7 separate regions of the Homo sapiens genome follow, and all the other regions are linked to region 1. Evidence: promoter capture Hi-C in 16 types of primary human blood cells and fetal thymus (Javierre and others, 2016). All regions are on one chromosome and are shown on one strand. Each heading gives the region's core, a stretch centred on a gene start or on the middle of the fragment in contact. The rest is flanking DNA. Distances are from core to core; before and after follow the strand shown.

The links. The method cuts DNA at HindIII sites, captures the fragments that hold promoters and counts their contacts. A CHiCAGO score of 5 or more calls a contact.
Region 2: a fragment that was not itself captured here is called in contact with the fragment with the promoter of DARS2 in region 1 in 8 of 17 cell types (total B cells, naive B cells, naive CD4 T cells and 5 more); the score reaches 13.7 in total B cells.
Region 3: a fragment that was not itself captured here is called in contact with the fragment with the promoter of DARS2 in region 1 in 2 of 17 cell types (total B cells and naive B cells); the score reaches 5.7 in total B cells.
Region 4: a contact is called between a fragment that was not itself captured here and the fragment with the promoter of DARS2 in region 1, in 1 of 17 cell types (neutrophils). The highest score is 11.2, in neutrophils.
Region 5: a contact is called between a fragment that was not itself captured here and the fragment with the promoter of DARS2 in region 1, in 1 of 17 cell types (neutrophils). The highest score is 9.0, in neutrophils.
Region 6: a contact is called between the fragment with the promoter of FASLG here and the fragment with the promoter of DARS2 in region 1, in 6 of 17 cell types (naive CD4 T cells, total CD8 T cells, activated CD4 T cells and 3 more). The highest score is 12.6, in naive CD4 T cells.
Region 7: a contact is called between a fragment that was not itself captured here and the fragment with the promoter of DARS2 in region 1, in 1 of 17 cell types (neutrophils). The highest score is 5.6, in neutrophils.

The regions. Positions count from the first base shown.
Region 1 is chr1:173,823,241-173,825,972 of GRCh38, reverse strand. DARS2 (aspartyl-tRNA synthetase 2, mitochondrial) reads right to left here and starts at 1,300. Exons shown (of 17, transcript NM_018122.5): 1 at 617-1,300. The coding sequence starts at 743. CENPL (centromere protein L) reads left to right here and starts at 1,090. Exons shown (of 6, transcript NM_001387287.1): 1 at 1,090-1,761; 2 at 1,954-2,047. RefSeq lists enhancers at 560-1,077, 784-1,343, 1,078-1,596, 1,574-1,813. The HindIII fragment of the contact is 2,471 bases long and covers 1-1,403 here.
Region 2 is chr1:172,729,645-172,732,429 of GRCh38, reverse strand. No RefSeq gene overlaps it. Among named protein-coding and RNA genes, the nearest start is that of FASLG, 72 kb to the right of the region's middle. The HindIII fragment of the contact is 2,306 bases long and covers 316-2,621 here.
Region 3 is chr1:172,712,908-172,715,657 of GRCh38, reverse strand. No RefSeq gene overlaps it. Among named protein-coding and RNA genes, the nearest start is that of FASLG, 55 kb to the right of the region's middle. The HindIII fragment of the contact is 611 bases long and covers 965-1,575 here.
Region 4 is chr1:174,988,449-174,991,148 of GRCh38, reverse strand. RABGAP1L (RAB GTPase activating protein 1 like) reads right to left here. Exons shown (of 26, transcript NM_001366446.1): 25 at 2,311-2,508; 26 at 1-1,300. The coding sequence ends at 1,148. Among named protein-coding and RNA genes, the nearest start is that of CACYBP, 10 kb to the left of the region's middle. The HindIII fragment of the contact is 8,943 bases long and covers 1-2,700 here.
Region 5 is chr1:175,013,803-175,016,833 of GRCh38, reverse strand. It overlaps MRPS14 (mitochondrial ribosomal protein S14), which reads left to right. Exons shown (of 3, transcript NM_022100.3): 3 at 1,983-3,031. The coding sequence ends at 2,165. Among named protein-coding and RNA genes, the nearest start is that of MRPS14, 8.1 kb to the left of the region's middle. The HindIII fragment of the contact is 1,233 bases long and covers 974-2,206 here.
Region 6 is chr1:172,657,682-172,660,381 of GRCh38, reverse strand. FASLG (Fas ligand) reads right to left here and starts at 1,279. Exons shown (of 4, transcript NM_000639.3): 1 at 833-1,279; 2 at 242-287. The coding sequence starts at 1,180. The HindIII fragment of the contact is 3,765 bases long and covers 1-2,700 here.
Region 7 is chr1:174,968,318-174,971,086 of GRCh38, reverse strand. RABGAP1L (RAB GTPase activating protein 1 like) reads right to left here. Exons shown (of 26, transcript NM_001366446.1): 21 at 1,700-1,810. Among named protein-coding and RNA genes, the nearest start is that of RABGAP1L-AS1, 15 kb to the right of the region's middle. The HindIII fragment of the contact is 6,694 bases long and covers 1-2,769 here.

The DNA of each region.
Region 1 (2,732 bases), core at 51-2,550:
GGGATTAACGACGTGAGCCACCGCGCCCGGCCGAAGAAGGATTTTTTTAAGGCATCAACCAAAAGCAGAGTATTCTATATATTACGTGGTTACCTTTTTGTGGTCTTTCTAAAAACTCAGGGAAAAAAAACTGCCGTATAATGAATATAATGAGAGTGAATTTCGCTTCTACACATAAGGCTATCCAGTTAAGAACAGGGGAAAAGCCGGGCGCGGTGGCTCACGCCTGTAATCCCAGCACTATGGGAGGCGGAGGCGGGTGGATCACGAGGTCAGGAGATCGAGACCATCCTGGCTAACACAGTGAAACCCCGGCTCTACCAAAAATACAGAAAAATTAGCCGGGCGTGGTCGCGGGCGCCTGTAGTCCCAGCTACTCGGGAGGCTGAGGCAGGAGAATGGCGTGAACCCGGGAGGCGGAGCTTGCAGTGAGCGGAGATCGCGCCACTTCACTCTAGCCTGGGCAGCAGAGCGAGACTCCGTCTCAAATAATAATAATAATAATAATAATAATAATAATAATGGGGGAAAAAATGAAAAATGGAATAAAAGCTCTCCGGCCGTAGATAACAGGCTGAAGTACTGTTCATAGGATAGATCTCTTCGCTATTTTCACCTGGAATTCTCCTCTGTGAACTCTGCAACAGACTTCTGTAGAGAGAACCCCAGATCGGTTGGGTGGTCCTTCTGATGGGTCTGGATAAACCCCTGTACAGCTGACTTAACCAAGAAGGGAAGTACATGTTGGAGCCACACGATGGCGAAAAACAATCACGAAATCCCACGCTGCCGGTAGTTAAAAGTCAGTTTTGGAAATACACAGAAATCCCTTAAAATTCCAGGAGTTCCCACTCTCTTCTCGAATATTTAAGGCCTCCTCCGCACAACATTGGAGTACACGTGTCTAGAAACAAGACAAATCTCCAAGGTCTCTGGGGTGCTTGCTGGGGTGGAGATAAGGGAAAGACCTCTCCCTGAGTCTTAAAGCATCAGTCTGCACTTCTACTCAACAAGTCGGCAGCCAAAAGTGACGACGAGAGAGCGACTCCACGTAGCGGCGCCAGGCGCGAGCCCAAGACAACCAGAGGCGGTCACAAGGTATACGCCCTTCTCCTCTTTCCACGCTTCTCGAGAGGCTCCCGCGGCCAGAACCGGAAAACAAGGAGTAACAGTCGCGTTTCAAATCTCGCAGACCTGCTGGCCGATTTCGAGTCTTCTGAAAGAGGAAGGCGAGCAAAGCCAAAATTCTCCCAGAGCGCGAACCCAAACACAGATCGCCGCTGGGGTCCAAGCGCCCTTCAACTCCGCCCGCTAGTGCCCAAGATTACCGGGAAGGAATTCAACGAATCAGTGGTGAGGTGCCGCCGCCATGCCTACTACGGGCGGAAATTTGAGAGAAAGCTTCGCACCGGTAGGAAAACTGAGGAGCAACCGAGCACGATTGGAAAGGTTGACGATAGTGGTTAAGTGGCTCGGCCTTGCCCTCAGTTAAAATGGCAATTTTAGTTGCTTCACTGATACGGAATCGGCGAGGCGCCAAGGAGGCTTCCTGCGTGGGGCCGCAGAGCGAGTCGGGAAACGATTTTAAACTGAAGAGGCGGCGGAGGGCCGAATTCCCTTTTCTCAACGGCTTGATTTCAGAGCTGGGCTGGTCTCTGACAGGCTCAGCTGGAGAGGGACGGGTTGGGACGCACTGTCCTTTTGCCCTTCCCCCTCCGCGAGCAGAAGCTGACTCCGCAGGAGCGAGGGTCGCAGAGCTGGGTGAGCGGAAATGTCCCTCCCAGAGTGAAGTCGCAGGGCCCGCCCCGCGTCTGAGGGAGCGGAGGTCTTCCTGGGTGCGTTTGTGTCTCTTGTGAACCCACTTGTGGAGCGAGAGGGAATTTGGGAGGGCCAGGGGTTAGTCTGGCCTCTGTCTTAGCTGTCATTTTGGCGGTTTTTTTTTTTTTTCTTCAGGGGATTTCAGTCTCCACATAGTTTTGGAGCCGGACTTTTGAAGAATGATTCGTGAATCCGGAATGGGTGACAGCGTCATCACGGCATTTTATTGGTAAAGATGCTTTGTATTGGTCCCGGACCTGCTTTAACTTTGTATTTGCCCTGTTGTGTGGTCATTATCTTACAATACTTGCGTGTTGAGGTGTGTTTAAACACTACGTGCTTAACACTGGCTAAGTATTGGCATTGGGGCGGTTGGATTTAGGTATTGGTGGCAATGTAGAAAAGTGATCAAGTCAGAGCCCCTTCACGGACTAATCACAAGAGAAACAACAAAGCTTTACTTGTGTGCTGTGAACCACAACTGCAAGTGGAATTGTCAAGAGAACTAGCCCTGCCAAGCTCAGGAAAACTTCTGAGGAGATGGCACATGGAAAATGGATAAGATTTACTGAGACAAACGGGAGTAGAGAAGTGTTTTTAATTGGCGATAAGGTGAATAAAAAGGCAGGGAGAACAGTAGAGTGATCATCTGTCTAGAGTAGGGGGTGCATGTTTGGGTATAGGGCTGTCATTTAACCTCTTAAAGAATTGTCTACTGGAACTTTCTTCACTCCCATCCCCCCACCCCCCAATGTTGTATACAAAACCTTAGAGGAAGTGTATGCAGAATGTTGGATTTTGGAAAGGCTAATGTCGATGGATCTTGGGGAAGAACTGAAGTAGTAGAAAATGAACCTGGATAGGATCAGATAATAAGATCAAATACAGTAGTGCCTTGAAAGCCAGACAGGAAT
Region 2 (2,785 bases), core at 219-2,718, 1.1 Mb after region 1:
AAAATGATTCTTGTCTCATATCATATATTTTTTTTTAAGTTACCTTACAATGGATCATAGGCTTAACTGTAAAACTTCTAGAAAAAAAAAAACACAGGGGAAAATCTTTGTGAATCTGGGTTAGGCAAACGTGGCATACTATATATAACCCATTTTCTTTATACAGTCAAATGTTCACCAACACTTAGGTTAATTCCATGACTTTGCTGTTGTGAATATGTTCATCAGAAATATTGGCTCATAGTTTTTTTTTTTTTTTTCAATGTCATTGCCTGATTTTGGTATCAGGGTGATACTGGTTTCATAGAACAAGCTTGGGAGGAATAGCTCCCCCTTAATGGTGTGAAAAAACTACGGTAAGATTGGTATCAGCTCTTCTTCGCACATCTGGTAAAATTTGTTTTTAAATCTGTCTGGTCCTGGGCTTTTGTTGTTTGTTGAAAGATTTTTTTTTTTTTTTTTTTTTTTTGAGACGGCGTCTCACTCTGTTGCCCAGGCTGGAGTGCAGCGGTGCGATCTCGGCTCACTGCAAGTTCCGCCTCCCGAGTCCACGCCATTCTCCTGCCTCAGCCTCCCGAGTAGCTGGGACTACAGGCGCCCGCCACCATGCCTGGCTAATTTTTTTTTTTTTTTTTTTTTTTTTTTTTTTGTATTTTTAGTAGAGACTGAGTTTCACCGTGTTAGCTGGGAGAAAGATTTTTCTTTATTACTGATTCAATTTCATTACTTGTTATTGGTCTGTTTAGGATTTCTATTTCTTCCTGGTTCAAACGTGGAAGGTTGCATGTTTCCAGGAATTTATCCATTTCTTCCAGGTTTTCTAGGGTGTACACATAGGGATGTTGATAATTCTGGAGTTGTTTTGTTTTGTTTTCTGACAAAGTTTCACTCTCAATGCCCAGGCTAGAGTGCAATGGCACAGTCTTGGCTCACTATGACCTCCCTCTCCTGGGTTCAAGCGATTCTCCTGCCTCAGCCTCCAAAGTAGCTGGGACTACAGGCACCCGTCACCATGCCCAGCCAATTTTTAAATTATTATTATTTTTAGTAAAGACGGGGTTTCAACATGTTGGCCAGGCTGATCTTGAACTCCTGACCTCAGGTGTTCCGCCCGCCTCCCCCTCCCAAAGTGTTGGGATTACAGGCATGAGCCACTGCACCGGGCCAGTTCTGGAGATCTTTTGTATTTCTGTGGTATCAGTTGTAATGTTGTCACCTTTACCATTTGTGATTGTGCTTACATGATTCTTTTTTCTTGCTTAAACTAGCTAGTGATCTACCTGTTTTATTTATCCTTTCAAAGAATCAATTTTTCATTTTGTTGATTCTTTGTAATTTTTTTTTGTCTGAATCTCATTTAGTTCTGATTTGATCTTTGTTATTTCTTTTCTTCTGCTAGCTTTGGGTTTGGATTGCTCTTGCTTTTCTAGTCCCTTGAAGTGCAAAGTTAGGCTGCTAATTTTAGATTTTTCTATCTTTTTTATGTAGGTATATAATGCTATACATTTTCCCTTTAGTACTACTTTTGCTGTTTCCCAGAGGTTTTGGTATCTTGTGCCTCTATATTATTTGTTTCAAAGAAAATTTGATTTTGGCCTTAATTTTGTTTACCCAAAAGTCATTCAGGAGCAAGTTGTTTAGTTCCTATGTACTTGTGTAAGTTTCAGGGTTCCTGTTGGCATTGATTTCTAATTTTATTTCCTTGTGGTCCAAGAAGACATTTGATATGATTTAAATTTTTTCGAAGTTGTAGAGACTTGTTTTGTGGCCAAGCATATGGTCAGTTTTGGAGAATGTTTCATGTGCAGGTGAGAAAACTGTATATTCTGTGGTTGTTGGGTAGGATGTTCTGTAAATGTCTATTAGGTCCATTTGGTCTAGAGTTCAGTTTAAGTCCAGAGTTTGTTGACTTTCTACCTCCATGACTTCTCTAGTTATGTCAGGGGAGTGCTGAAGTCCCTGACTACTACTGTATTGCTGTCCATTTCTTCTCTTAGGTCTGGCAGTATTTGTTTTATGAATCTGCATGCCCTGGTGTTGGGTACACATATATTTAGGATGGTTAAATCTGCTTGTTGTATTGAACCCTTTATAATTACATAATACCCTTTTTAGTCTTTTTAAAAAATTGTGTTGGTTTAAAGTTTGTTTTATCTGATACAATAAGGATGGCTACTCCTATTTGCTTTTGTTTTACATTTTCATGGTACATGTTTTCCATCCCTTTACTTTGAGTCCGTAGGTGCTTTAACCATTAAGTCGTTCTCTTGTAGGCAAAAGATGATTGGGTCTTGGTTCTTTTAATCCAGTTTTCCTAGATCTATAGTATATATATTTTATGTGGAGCATTTTGGCCATTTACTTTTAAAGTTAATATTCAATGTGTAGTTTTGTTTCTGTCATAGCATTGTTAGCTAGTTGCCTTGGGTCTCAATTGTACAATTGCTTTATAGGGTCTGTGGGCTTTCTTTTACATGTGCTTTTATGATGGCAAGTATTGTCCTTTTGTTTTCATATTTATGACTAATTTGATCATTTCTTGTAGGGTCAGTCTAGTGGTGATTAATTCCCTTATCATTTGCTTGTCTGGAAAAGTCTATTTCTCCTTCATTTATGAAGCTTAGTTTGGCAGGATATAAAATTCTTGGCTAGCATTTTCTTTTCTTTAAAGAAGTGAAAAATAGGCCCACTTTTCTCTTCTAGCTTGTAAGGCATCTGCTGAGAAGTCTGCTGTTAGTCTGATGGAATTTATTTTATCAGTGATTTGACATTTCTCTCTAGCTCC
Region 3 (2,750 bases), core at 21-2,520, 1.1 Mb after region 1:
AAGACACAGAAGCCAGTCCATATGAATTAAGACAGACTCTCATCAGTCCTGCATGGTTAAAACTTGTTCCTATTACATAGTTGATAAATAAAGTAATTTCTCAAAGAAACCTTGGACATTATGAAAAAAGAAGCAACTAGGAGTCCACTTAGCAACTTCTCAGAAGTTATTAAATATGAACAGATACCCACAGTACCACTAGGCTGTGTACACAGAAGGATGAAAGATGATGTTGGTTGACTTCTCCATCTCTTGCAACCTGTTTACAACTGTTAATTCTGTAATTCATGCTTCAAAATACTCTAAACTTTGAAGTGATACTATATTATCTAACCTATAAAATAACAAAATGTTAACAGAGTAACGTAGATTGACTAATTCTTAAGGTAAAGAGTCTGTCCTGAAAAGCATAATAGTGTGTCATTCAGGTGATTGGTAGAAAGGAATTGTCATAATTCTCAAATAGATTATTTTTCCAGGATTTAGGCCTCTTTCCTTTAAATGACAGTGATCCCAAGAAAACCAAGAAAGTGGTTAGTGCCTCAGTTAAATGCTGTATAGCCAGTTTTGAAATTACTTAAATATCAGTAAAAATGCATATGTGAAGAATTGTCTTCAAAAAGAAATCACAGACTTCAAAATCACTAGTATTGTCTTTTTAAATTGTATTCTATTTATTATCAGAGGGAGGTTGATAGTTTACTTCGCTCTCAGAATTTTGCACCTTCAAATAGTGTCATTCTCATCTAATTTTTTTTTACTTTTACATTTACATTTAAGGAATCTTTGTTTCTGATCTTGAGATGTGGAATGAGGCTAGAGAGATGGCCAGATTGTCAGAGATCCTCTTAATGTTGTTTGGTATCTCTGGGGAATTAATAGAAATATTGTGGACTAAAGAGAGCTTAGAAAAGTGCTCTAGATGACTTCTACAGTGAGTACGGCTATTTTGGATACTTAAGCTTCATGAAGTACCTTCATAAAAAGGAAAAAAATGAATTTTAAAGGAGGCTTAGGAAGACAAATCCCAATGCTAAAAGAAAAGGCAATATAATTAAGACTATGCTTTCAAAAGCTGAGGTAAATTATTTGGGGGTTGGTTTTATAGCTCTTTCTCTCTAGAGAATAATATAAAGGTACTTCAATATATAGATTTCTGCCTGTGCTAGCTATCATCCAAGAATGACTGGCAGATTCCCATGGGTAAAAATCTCCCCTAAACAAATTCACATACTCAGGATCAGCAGGAGAGCTTGATTCTGTCCCTTCTTTTCTTACAAGCTGAGGAGGAAAACAAGAGGCCCATGCAAATTAAGTCAGTGTGCAAGCTACCATTTTTTCTTGTTAATCACTGGCTAAAATGAATAAAACACTTAACCTATTATTTGGCCAAATTTCAAAATCCCTGAATTATAGTGCAGTGTTGATATCAGTGGGTGAAAAAGCAGATTTTCTTTCCTGCCTAATTCAGAAGGTGGAAATTAGATACACTTTACCTTAGCAAGAGTCAGCCAAGTTTTTACCTCTTAGCAAGATCAGTGGTTCTCTATGAGCACTGGAACCACTTGGAAAGCTTGTGAAAATGCACAATACTGGGTCCCACAGGGATTTTGATTCAGTGTATTGGGAGGCAGGTCTAGGAAACTACATTAGAAACAAACACCACAGGCGTTCTTCAGTCCACACTTTGAGATACCCTTTTATAGAAACTTTATCACCCCATAGGTATACACAAAGCAGCTACAAATGATCCATGTGAATGATGAAATGATAGTACATTTTTGGCACAAATAAAGATTTCTTTTATTTTTCTTCTCCTCCATCCCCTTGTCTCACTATTACTTTTCTGTCTTCTCACCACCCTTTCTGTCTTCCTGCTTTTACACTGTTTCTTTCACCTCTGTCTTTGCACTGTCAGCTATGAATCATAAAAAAGGAAAATGGAAGCAGAAGAAAAGGCCTCACTTGTCTGGACTTTCTGAGTACCAGACAGTCATTCACTGATGTCCTTAAATTTAAGAAATTTCAGTGAATCAGGTGCTGATGATATAATGACCTTAATATACAAATACATGATTTTTTTATTGCTAAAAGTGTTGAAATCTCCACAAAGCAAAAGATTGGAGAGATAAAAGACAAGGAAATTCTATGTAATCAATTTTATATATTACTTGTTAGCATCTCAGAGAAAGACTTATTGAAAGACTGAAGCTAGAGAATAAGAATACCAATAACAAATTCATTCACTCATTCTTTCATGTATTCAAACATAAAGAATTATATTTCTATCTTCTTTGCCAAGGCATGAGAGAAAAGTGAAATAAGATGTATTTTTCATTGTTGTTAAAAAGTTATTCGATAAATAATTAAAAATCAAGATAACAAAGAAAAGCAAATGGAAGACTGAAAGTGTTTTTACAATATAATGTTAACTTTTGTTCTTGTTATCTAAAACTGAAGGATCTCTGTCATAATTCACAATTATATCTTTACTTAAGTCACTCAATCAATATTGGGTTGACTCTTATCAAGCTCCTGACAAAATTAAGTGAAGATGGGTTATCTTACCCACTTTCATTTCTCAGAGTTATTACTTATCAACTGATGTCCATATATCCCAAGGATCCCATGGATAAAATACAAGGGGTTCATGAACTCAGATGGAAAAAAAAACACCTTTATTTTTGCTTACTTCTAACTAATATTTTACATTCTCTTCTTACATGAATGTACGAAATAAACCAAAGTAA
Region 4 (2,700 bases), core at 12-2,511, 1.2 Mb before region 1:
TTCCATGAGATAAGTATTTCTGTAAAGGTTTTATATTCAATCAAAAATGTTACAAATGCATTTGTATCTCTTTATGGGTACGAAGGACACATTTTCAGGGAACTACAGAAATCAGAAAAAGTTGCCCAGCATTAAACTAAGATGATGTGAGCCTGACCTCTATTTCCCATTTCAATACTATGTCCTTTAACAAAGTTACAGTATTGTTAGTGTTTCCTTAGCAAGTATATATCAACGTTAAATGAAATACTCTGTCCCTGGTTCTATATTCCACTCTATTCAGCACAATGGCTGAACCTGGGGCTTTTTAGGCGTCTCTGGTAAAGGCTCCCTAAGTCTGTAAGGTGCAATATCCACCTTTAACTTTATAATTGCCAGAAGTCACATCTGTGTCCATACTTTGGTGTACTTAGGAACTCACAAGTCCTATGTGGCATTCTTAAAAGGATCTGTTAGAATACCACAGCCCAAATGATCCTGACCTACACTTATTAAAATTTCAGTTCCTTTTACCTAGCGTATAATCTGAACAGCCCGTCTATTCCTGGCACTTCATTTCCAGATGTACCGAACAGAAAATGAAAGTAAACCAATGATCGCTGATTGGTTCTTTCCTTTGGACAGGATTAACACTTCCCTGGGAATCAGGCTCAGGAGGAAACCTGAGAGTGGTCATGCCTGGCCCCACAGTGTGCTTTATCTGAATAAATCCTGAAAACTTAAGATGTTTAGGTTTCAATTTTTTTTTTCCTGTGACAAAGATCTTCTTATCACTTCAACCTTGGAATAACAGATGTCTCCATTTTTATGTAAGATAAAAATAATTATGAATAATTCTAAATAAAAAAGCATTTAGTTCTGAATTACTTATTTCCAACTAAACATCAGGCAAACAAAATAATGTGTAATACTATGATGGATCTGAACATGGCCTTCCAGAAGCTGGAAAATAGGTATTCAACATAGAACAGGTCAGTTTAAATAGCATCCCTTTGAAAAGTGTCATACAAGAAAGAGTGAGAGCTACTGAAAAATTCTGGCTTGTTTTCTGGCCTCCTTGACTTTCCTTCAAAGGGACACCAGGAAGAATCCTCCCAGATTTCCATTGGTTTGAACATTGTGCTCTTGTGCTTGGGTAAGGCTGGAACTATGTGCTCTCCTTGGGTGGCTGGGTGACCGGTGCTGGCTGCAATGGCTGGGTGCCCGTGGCCGTTTTGATAGAGTTCAGGGTTTTGCTAAACCAAGAGTTTTTCGCAGCTTGGATTTCATTCATAAGGGCTCCTCTCTGATGTTCAAGTTCCTAATTAAAGCAAGAAAATCATCTGAGTTAAATAAATGTTTTCTCTTTGCCAATAAATAAATAAAAGTGTGCAGCTTTTTGGAGTCTCAAGGTATGTGCTGCCAATTTTCCTCCCACAAAACCCAGGAGAGATTGAATTGGCTTCTTAGTACAAGGATAAAGTTAAGAGCTAAAAGACTTATCAAAAATCTAGAATCTGTGCTTTCTTTAAACAGTGAAAGAAAAGCTCATTTTATTCTTTTTTTCCCTGCAAGTTAGGTCCAAATTTAGGTTTAGGTTGCAATCCGATATAACAGGTTTAAAAACCACAAATAAATGTAAACATATGGATGAATTTTTACTGATAGTAGAAGCATGAATGAATTCCAGTTCCAAAGAAATAGGCTTTGCCCTAAGAATGTCCAAGGTCAGAGCAGACACATGGTGGAAGCTGGCTGGTGTGGTGGAGGCTGGTGACATGGCAGCCATGGTGCTGGTAGGGATCACTGGGAAAATGAAATGAAGAAGAGTCCATCAGAAGCCAGGACTATTTCTAATTATATTATGCGCCAATATGGAGAAAGATAATGGGGAAAGAGGTTTGACAAAATGAGCTAAAGATAAAAAGAAGCTCTAAAGGAAAGAACGGGTGTCAGCCAATGTGTGACTCTCAGGGTAGACACAGCAGAGGGGGTTTGGTTTTTCATTTTCAGGATCAGCCACTGAAGTGACCACATTCTGTGAGAAAGGATGTAAGCAAAAAATCTCAGGGTAAAAAAAACAAGCATATGCTTAATTAAATTCCCATAAGATATAATTTTAATTATTAAAATTTCATTTAAAATTATATATTTGTTTATATCAGCGTTAAGAATACATGATATAAAATGTGATTATGCAGGACACATTAGCAGACAGAAAATGTATTCATCATACAATTCTGACCTAGATAGGTGTATTCTGAAGTACTAGAGTATCCTGGACCATTAATTGTTTATTCTTTCTTCTTGTTCTTTTATCAAATCACCAACCTGAATTTTACACTTGGCCTCCACCAACTGCAGTTTGGTTTGTGCCAGTTCCAGTTCCATCTCTCTCAGCTGCTTCTTAAGTGAGTCCTTCTCATCATCTGTTTCAATTCCCTGGTCCTCTCTGCCTGTGGCTGCTAGTTTCAAAGCACCCTCCTTGCTGAAAATGTCACTGCAGTGTTTGCATGCCATCATCTTACCCTAAAGTATCCAAAAGAGATAACCAACATCAAACTATTCCATAGGCTAAATCACCTTCTGAAACAATTTATGACTTTTTTAGATGCTGCTTATTGTCATAGATGCAGGCCCATTTCTGAAGGTTAATTATTTTTCTTGTGCTGCAATCAAAATCATTAGCCCGAACCCAACTATCCAAGACGGGTGCTCCTT
Region 5 (3,031 bases), core at 341-2,840, 1.2 Mb before region 1:
ATTGGTAAGAGAGTAGATCTGAAGTGTTCTTACCACACATACACAAACGGTAATTTTGTGAGGTGAAGGATGCATTCATTAACTTCATTGTGGTAATCATTTCACAATGTATATGTTTAGCAAATCATGACATTGTATGCCTTAAATATATGCAATTTTTATTTGTCAACTATACATTAATACAGCTGGGGGTGTGTTGTTTGAGTACCTTTATGAAGATACCCAGAAGACATGTCTCTGGTATGACTAGCAGCAATAACTGTGCAGAGTCTGTGAATCATGTAAACTGATCATGGTTCTCTGCTGCCTGCCAAGTAGCTTACAAGTCAAATTTATGTCCCAGTTCTAATTTCACAGCATGCACTTTTGTGTCCTGAGGCTTTTATCTTTCCTACTCTCATTTCTCTTTGCCCCAGTTTCCTCATTTGTAAACTGCCTTAAATCTTTCGGGGAACAAGAAGGAAGGGGTATGTATCAATCAATCAATCCATAATTTCTAGCCATTCTTTAAGGTCCACCTCCATGAAACTTGGCTTCAATCTTCTTGCCCAGTCATTTCTCCTCTCCAGTTCCTTGTATAGCATTTATTGTTTACTACTCAATGGCTCAATCATGGTTTTTTTTTGTTTTTTTTTTTTTGAGATGGGGTTTTGCTCTTGTTGCCCAGGCTGGAGTGCAGTGGCACAATCTGGGCTCACCACATCTGCCTCCTGGGTTCAAGCGATTCTGCTGCCTTAGCCTCCCGGCCAGATGGGATTACAGGCATGTGCCACCACACCCAGCTAATTTTGTATTTTTAGTAGAGATGGGGTTTCCCTATGTTGGTCAGGCTGGTCGCGAACTCTTGACCTCAGATGATCCGCCTGCCTCGGCGTCCCAAAGTGCTGGGATTATAGGCGTGAGCCACTGTGCCTGGCAATCATGTTGTTTTATGTAATTCTGTTAGTTCATAATGGTAACACATGCATAAGCTTTTGTTAATTTTTGGCTTTTATATACTTTCATTTAATTTGTGTTATTTTAATGTGTTATTTTGCTTGCACCGCAGTCTAGCACAGGGTCCATCTACTTGTTAGCACACTTATCAGATTAAAGTGAATATTATGAACACTCACACTCTTGAACACATACATAAGAAGAAATCTCTACTGACAAAACCTGAGCCCTAGCTACTGCTGTAATCCCTACTTTTCTCCCCTCAACCACTTTGCCCTTACCTGATTCATCCTCTACCTTGCAAATGATTTTTTTTAAATATAAACCTCATCTGATCTCTCCCCTTTACTTCTCTAGCTGTCAGAATCTTTACCATAGACATCAGGGCTCCATGTGATACTCTCCTTCCTCCTTCTCTAGTCTTATCTCAAGCCACATTCCCTCCTATTTGATCATCATTCCAGAGGTTTCACTTTCGTGATTCAAAAAACATGAGGCGGCAACAGAAATACATTCACATACTTTACAAATGAGTTAAACAAGAGTATGTAGCTGCACTATTTATATTCGCCCAAATCGTAAGATGACCATCAAATGTAGGATGGATAAATGAATTATGGTACTCATGCAATGAACATTACCTGCCAGTGGCCAGGCGCTGTGGCTCACACCTGTAATCCTAGCACTTTGGGAGGCAGAGATGGGCGGATTGCCAGAGCTCAGGAGTTTGAGACCAGCCTGGGCAACGTGGTGAAACCCCGTTTCTACTAATAATACAAAAAATTAGCTGAGTGTGGTAGTGCACACCTGTAATCTCAGCTACTCGGGAGGCTGAGGCAGGAGAATCACTTGAACCCAGGAGGCGGAGGTTGCAGTGAGCTGAGATTGTGACATTGCACAATCTAACACCCACAGCCTGGGTGACAGAGCGAGACTCTGTCTCAAAAAAAAAAAAAAAAGAAAAGAAAATTACCTGCAAGTGAGAAGGAGCAAAATACATGTGCAACAATGTAATGTGATCTGTGTAATAATGTGATTTCCCTTAGGATGTGGCTGATGAAGAAATTGCTGCCCTCCCCCGGGATAGCTGTCCTGTTAGAATCAGAAATCGGTGTGTTATGACGTCCCGTCCGCGTGGTGTGAAGCGGCGCTGGAGGCTTAGTCGTATAGTCTTCCGTCACTTAGCTGACCATGGGCAACTTTCTGGGATCCAGCGAGCGACATGGTAAATGAGCTCCAGAACCTATTGAGCTTGCAGGGAAGCCAAGCTTGCAGTTCCAGCAAGCAAAGATTTTTTTTAATAGACCAAACCCTAATCTCTACAGGGGCCCAGTACAGTTGTTTGGCCTACCTGATGCTATCTCTAAACTACTTTTAAAATGAAGACATTTGGGTGTTTCATGTCAGTGAATTATCTTTTCTCTTGGACTTAACAAACATACTGTTCCCATACATAGTACAAAGAGTAGCATAATAAATATTTTCTGTGAATGTTTTTTATACCCTCCTTTTAAGTTTAATCTTTTAGTAACATATAGGGGTTTTTGTATTAAGAGCATTATTTCATAAAATGCTATCTTATACATAATCCAACTAATTGACATGTAGCTCATGTATGGCAGTTTGTAATCCTGGACTAGCTTTGCTGACCTGCAGAGCTCCCCTTAACTATTATTGTTAGATAAACAGATTGGATAGCAAGGCTGCTGTTCTGGATTATCTAATGCTCCACTTCTTCTTGTGATGGCTGAACAAAAGAACCACTAAGTGTTTTCTTGTCCATCCTTAAGGGACTTTAAAACAAATTATGCCTCTTTAAGTCCTTGAAAGTCTCCATCTAAAGAGGAAAAGTTTGTTGGAACAGTATATATTCCCTATTTTTATGTTTATTTAATCCATAACAGAAATGAGTAAGGGTAGCACAAAGTTCTCATTCAGTAACTCAACAGTGTGATCATCAGCCCAGTGATAAAAATATACATACTGAATGGAAGTACCTACTTAACATCAGGAAAATATTCCTGGAGAACTTAATAAATCAGGAGGTGAGGGGTGAGATTTTTTTCTGCACACAGAGGGAACAAAAGCACAAAGA
Region 6 (2,700 bases), core at 30-2,529, 1.2 Mb after region 1:
AAGTGGAAGTGATTTTGAATTGTGTGCAGTGCTCAGCTATATTGATTGTGAGCAATTCAATTCACTTCACATTTTTAAAGCAGCTCAAGGAATCATAGACCAGAGATTCTGAATTAGCCAGAATTCCTCTTATAGTGTACAGAAACCAAAGTGTGGGACAGAATTTAAGGCATTCCATTAACATAGTTCTGTGCTGAGGATCATCTTTGGGAACTCAATGTACATGCGAAAAAAGACTCACCTATTTGCTTCTCCAAAGATGATGCTGTGTGCATCTGGCTGGTAGACTAGTAAAACAGAAAGAGAAAAGATGTATAATAAAAATAAAATTCTTTAAGCAAAAGAGGCAGAATCGTCAAATAAACCAAGCCCTGGAAAGAGAATCCAAATACCTCAGAAGTTCTGCTAACTTGGGCTTTGGCCAAGCAATTTTGCCTCACTGTCCCTCAGTTTTGTGATTTGGAATCGTACCAATTTTCAAGATTTAGTTTGGTCATCTGAACAAATTTACTTCCAAGCAAAACTTAAAAGTTTTGTTTGTTTGTTTTTTACTCCTTAAATCAATAGGTATGAGGCAGTAAGTGGTTCAACAGACTGAGTTGACAACTGAGGAAAGACAAACTGTTGGGCTCTGATTCTTTACAAAGTAAAAAATATTCCCTTCACCCCTATGAGCCTCCATTTCTCTGTCTATAGAATAGAATAACTAGAACAACCCATTTCTAAGAAAAAAAAAAAAAGGATTGAAAAGCACTTTGCAAGCCAGGCAGTGGGCCCTCCATCCCCTTATGCCTGGTGCCTCCAGGGCACAGCAGTCTGCCGGCAGGCTTACCTCTCGGAGTTCTGCCAGCTCCTTCTGTAGGTGGAAGAGCTGAAACATCCCCAGGCCCAATCCTACCAAGGCAACCAGAACCATGAAAAACATCACAAGGAGACACAGGCCTGTGCTGTGGTTCCCTCTCTTCTTCAGGGGTGGCAGCGGTAGTGGAGGCAGTGGTGGCGGCGGCGGCGGAGGTGGTAGTGGTGGCGGTGGCGGTGGTGGTGGTGGCCTCCTTTGACCAGGCCTTCTGGGCACAGAGGTTGGACAGGGAAGAACTGTGCCTGGAGGGGCCCAGGGAGAGCTGGCACTGCTGTCCACCCAGTAGATCTGGGGATATGGGTAATTGAAGGGCTGCTGCATGGCAGCTGGTGAGTCAGGCCAGCCCCAGCAAACGGTTTTACTTCTTCTCAGTCCTGTAGAGGCTGAGGTGTCAAGGACGGGACCCTGTTGCTGACTGCTCAAGAGGAGGCAAGCTGGATCTCTCTTATAGAGTTTCCATAGCTAAGGGAAACACCTCTGTCTTTCTCTTTCTCTATCTCTCTCTCTCTGATTCTGCTTCTCAAAGAAACACCCACTCACTTTGCAGCTGAAGCTGAGAAGCCTCAAGAAGCTCAGAGCAAACCCCTGGAAGTTTCCGCCCACAATTTTCTGATAACAGCCTTCAAGGCCTCAGTTGCTGTCGCTGTGCTACCCAAACAGGTTAGTAGGCTATGCTCACCTTCCTGGGATCCTGCAGAGCAGGTCAGCATGGGGGTATAGCCCTGTTAGTGTGAACTGCTCCCAGCTACAGGAGAATGGTCAGTGGGGCTATAATTTTATGAATTATAATTGCATGCTTTTTTATACATTATAATTGTATAATTTTAAGAATTCTACCATATACACAACCAAAAAACTATTTAAAAATCCCAAAATAACTCTAACAAAAATTGTTCAGAACCGTATTTTTTAAACTATAAAAATTTTACTGAAAATGGCTCTGAGGGGAGAGACCATGGAGTCATGGCCAGAGAAGTCACTCCCACATTTTAGTTTTTGCAGGAGGAAAACATCTGTTGCCATCATCTCTTCCCCACACACAACTACCATTTACCCTGACCTGCCGATCACCATAATTTACAGGTTAAAAACCTGCTACACCCACTTTAGAAATTAGATCAGAGGCTGCAAACCAGTGGAACCCACAGAGCTGCTTTGTATTTCGCAATGTTTTCATTTTCATTGTTTGCCCAGTTTATTTATTTACTTATTTATTTAAATAGAGACAGAGTCTCACTCTGTCACCCAGGCTGGAGTGCAGTGGTGCTATCGTAGTTAACTGCAGCCTCAAACTCCTGGGCTCAAGCAATCCTCTTGCCTTGGCCTCCTGAGTAGCTGGGATTATAGGCATAAGTCACTACACCTGACTAATTTATTCTTTTTTTTTTTTGTACAGATGGGGACTTGCTATGTTGCCCAGGCTTGTCTCAAACTCCTAGCTTCAAGACATCCTCCTGCCTCAGTTTCCCAAAGTGCTGGAATTACAGGCATGAGCCACTGCACTGAGCCCAACTGACCACTTTTAATATCAACATTAAAAATATTTTAAAATATATATATTAAATACACATTAAAATACATATTTCTATTCTGTTTTGAAATATCAGAATATCAGACACCCTCGAGGCCATCTCTGCAAACCCAATCAGTGGGAAGTATGTAGCAGCTGCCCCTGAGAATGAGAGACAGGAGTTCTGGGTCACCCAGCCTCCACCACTGGCCTGTGTCTCACACACCACCTCACTATCTGAAAGGCCTGCCTGGTCCCTGCCAACATTTCTGTGTGCTGCCCCTGTTATGGTTGCCAGATGAAATACATGGTGCCCAGTTAAATTTGAATT
Region 7 (2,769 bases), core at 37-2,536, 1.1 Mb before region 1:
ACCTAGCAGTAACATTTTGATGTATTTCCTTGTGGGCTTCTTCCCTATCTAGGTATACTATGGTCCCCTTCCCTATAGGATGACCCAATGCCAGCCAGTAGCCCTTGAAATTTAGATGCAAACATTATAAATGTTTACTGTTTACAGAAAAAAAAAAGTATTTTTTAAAAAAATACTTTATCATTATTTTCCCATTAACAAAAATTATTCCAGAAAGACATTTTACAGTCAAACTGTCATTCTCCCCTACTAGTGAACATAGATAAAATAATATTTCTATTTTTCATTCTTATAAGTAACACTGCAGTAAACAACCTTGTATATACATTTTTTTTAAACAGATCTTTTTTTTTTAGGATAGCTTTACAAGTCAGAGGATCTCTAGTTTCCTCATCTATATAGTTTCCTCATTCATGAAATGGAGGATTAAAATAATAACTGCTTCCTGGAGTCATTAGGGAGATTAAATGAGATGATGTTTATAAATTGCTTTATTTAGTGCTTGGCACATAGTGGGTACATAGTAAAATTTAATTTTATTATTGCTTAAACCTTTTAACGTCTTAACACATATTACCAACTACATTTGCCAAACAACTTTGAAACTCTCCTTAGCTCATTTCACTGCATCCCCACTGAATCCAACTGTTTAAAAATTGTTTCATTTAGTCAGCCATCATAAGAAAATTATTAATGGATAAAAGATTCAAAATGGCAGAATCAAGTGTGAATCAAGACCATTTGGAAAGTTAACATAGAACCAAGACTTTCATTATAGCACTGACTTATCTCAACAGTCTCATGAATACAAAAATATGACCACTGAGGTAAGGCTGAATTGACCCTGATTGAATGGAGATCCGGCTACCTTCTTTGGTTCTGACTCTCCTAGTCACATATTTCTCATACCACTTCTCACAGCTTCCAAATGGGTGGGCTGAATGAGGTTTGTGGTTAACAGGGCCACAACTTTTTAAAAAACCATTCTCTGGGCAGCTTTTTCTACCTTCCATATCCTGTGTCCCAAACAACACAGTTTTTGTTTTTGTTTTTGAATTCCCTTTAGTGCCAGCTCTCTCAGCTACATCTAACATTTAATGAACACATACTATCGAAGTGTTTTACTTATTTAATTGTTATATCATCTCTATGAGATAGACACCTTTTTATACCTATAGACAGCTTAAGAACTGTCCAGGGTCATATGGTTCACAGTGGTGGTGCCAGCATTCACAATCAGGCAGTCTGGCTCTCAGCCACTCAGATGCCTATCAATCTAACAATCCAACTCTTAATGTAGGTACTTCATGTAAAAGTTCACATTTATTATGGAGAATAATTCTTACTGGAACAAAAAGTAAGGCATCTACTGTTAGAGTGGCATTAGTACAGGCATATTCTTGGTGACTGATGTTCTCAGATAATTATGCTGACAGCCATTGGTTCAGGAAAGGTATCAACAAAGACATAACAGAGTTTAGAGGTATAAAGAAAGTATGTCACACATGCTATTTAGAAATGACCCAAACCTTTCTCAAAGGCTTATGTTTTCCATGGTCTCCAATTAACAGACTGTCCCTGCCACTTGTCCATTCCTCAAGAACAAAGTCAAGAACAAAGCAAGTTTGTGGGGGCGGTGATGAGGGCAAATCGGTCTTTGCCCTGAGGAAGTCATCACAGTCTCATTTCTAAGGATTACCTGATCCAAGTCATTCCGTAGAGCAATTTTGCTTGTTACTAGTTCATGGGCAAGGTCATCATTCTCTTGTTCCAACCTCATGCTGGCCTCCTGTAATCTTCGGTTCTCCCTCTGCAGAAGAACAATAGCCAGAGGTGGGCATTAGTGTCTGGACATACAGAAACGAACAGAACTGGTGAGGAAAAACAAGCAACAAAGTGAACTTTCAAAGGTGTAAAAAGGAGAAGGCGCAAGTGGCACAGGAAGGCAGGATTGCTGTCTGGGAAACAACAGTGAGTTTAGCTAGCAATGCAGATGCGGTTCTCTACCCGGTGAAACTGGTCCCTTAAACTCTCAAGATGGAACTTCATTATAAAAAATGTGCCACAAAGAACAAACTTTCTGAGCATATCCCCCCCAATCCTGTGAGGTTTTTACATAGATCTAGAACACAGACACAAACAATTCTTTATTTGAAACATGCACGGTAGTCTCACCCTTGACCTCAAGAGAAACCACAAGACACAGTAGGAATGAAACAGGGGAAAACCACCAGACATTTCTTCAAATTGTTTTTCTAAGACAGGGTTCATATTGAGTATATTTAAGAGCTCTAAATCAAGAATCATGACACATGGGTTCATGACTTTGCTAACAGCTGACATTTTTATTCTTTGAGTAAGAATATATTTACTTTTCTGAACACCTATTTTTGTGTGAGAGCAACAGTCATAAGATATCTAGTTTTTTTGTTTTTTAAAAAATTTCAGATTAAAACATTCTGGGTAAAATAAATTACTGAGGATTTCTGCTCCCAACCTTGAAAAATCTGAAACAAAGTTACATGATAAAAAAACAAACAAAAAAACGAAACAAACAAACAAACAAAAAGAAAGAAAAAAAAAAAACCAAGTCACTAATTCTTATGAAGCAAGGCCTTTCCTTAACTAAACACTATGAACTTGGTATGTTCACAACTATTTTCAGAATAGCTATTTCATGTCTTCCATTCCAAAGTATCAAAATTGCTTTCTTTGCTACTGTTAACAGTTATAGGAGATTCAAAAGAGAGCTGACAGGAAAGACTAATG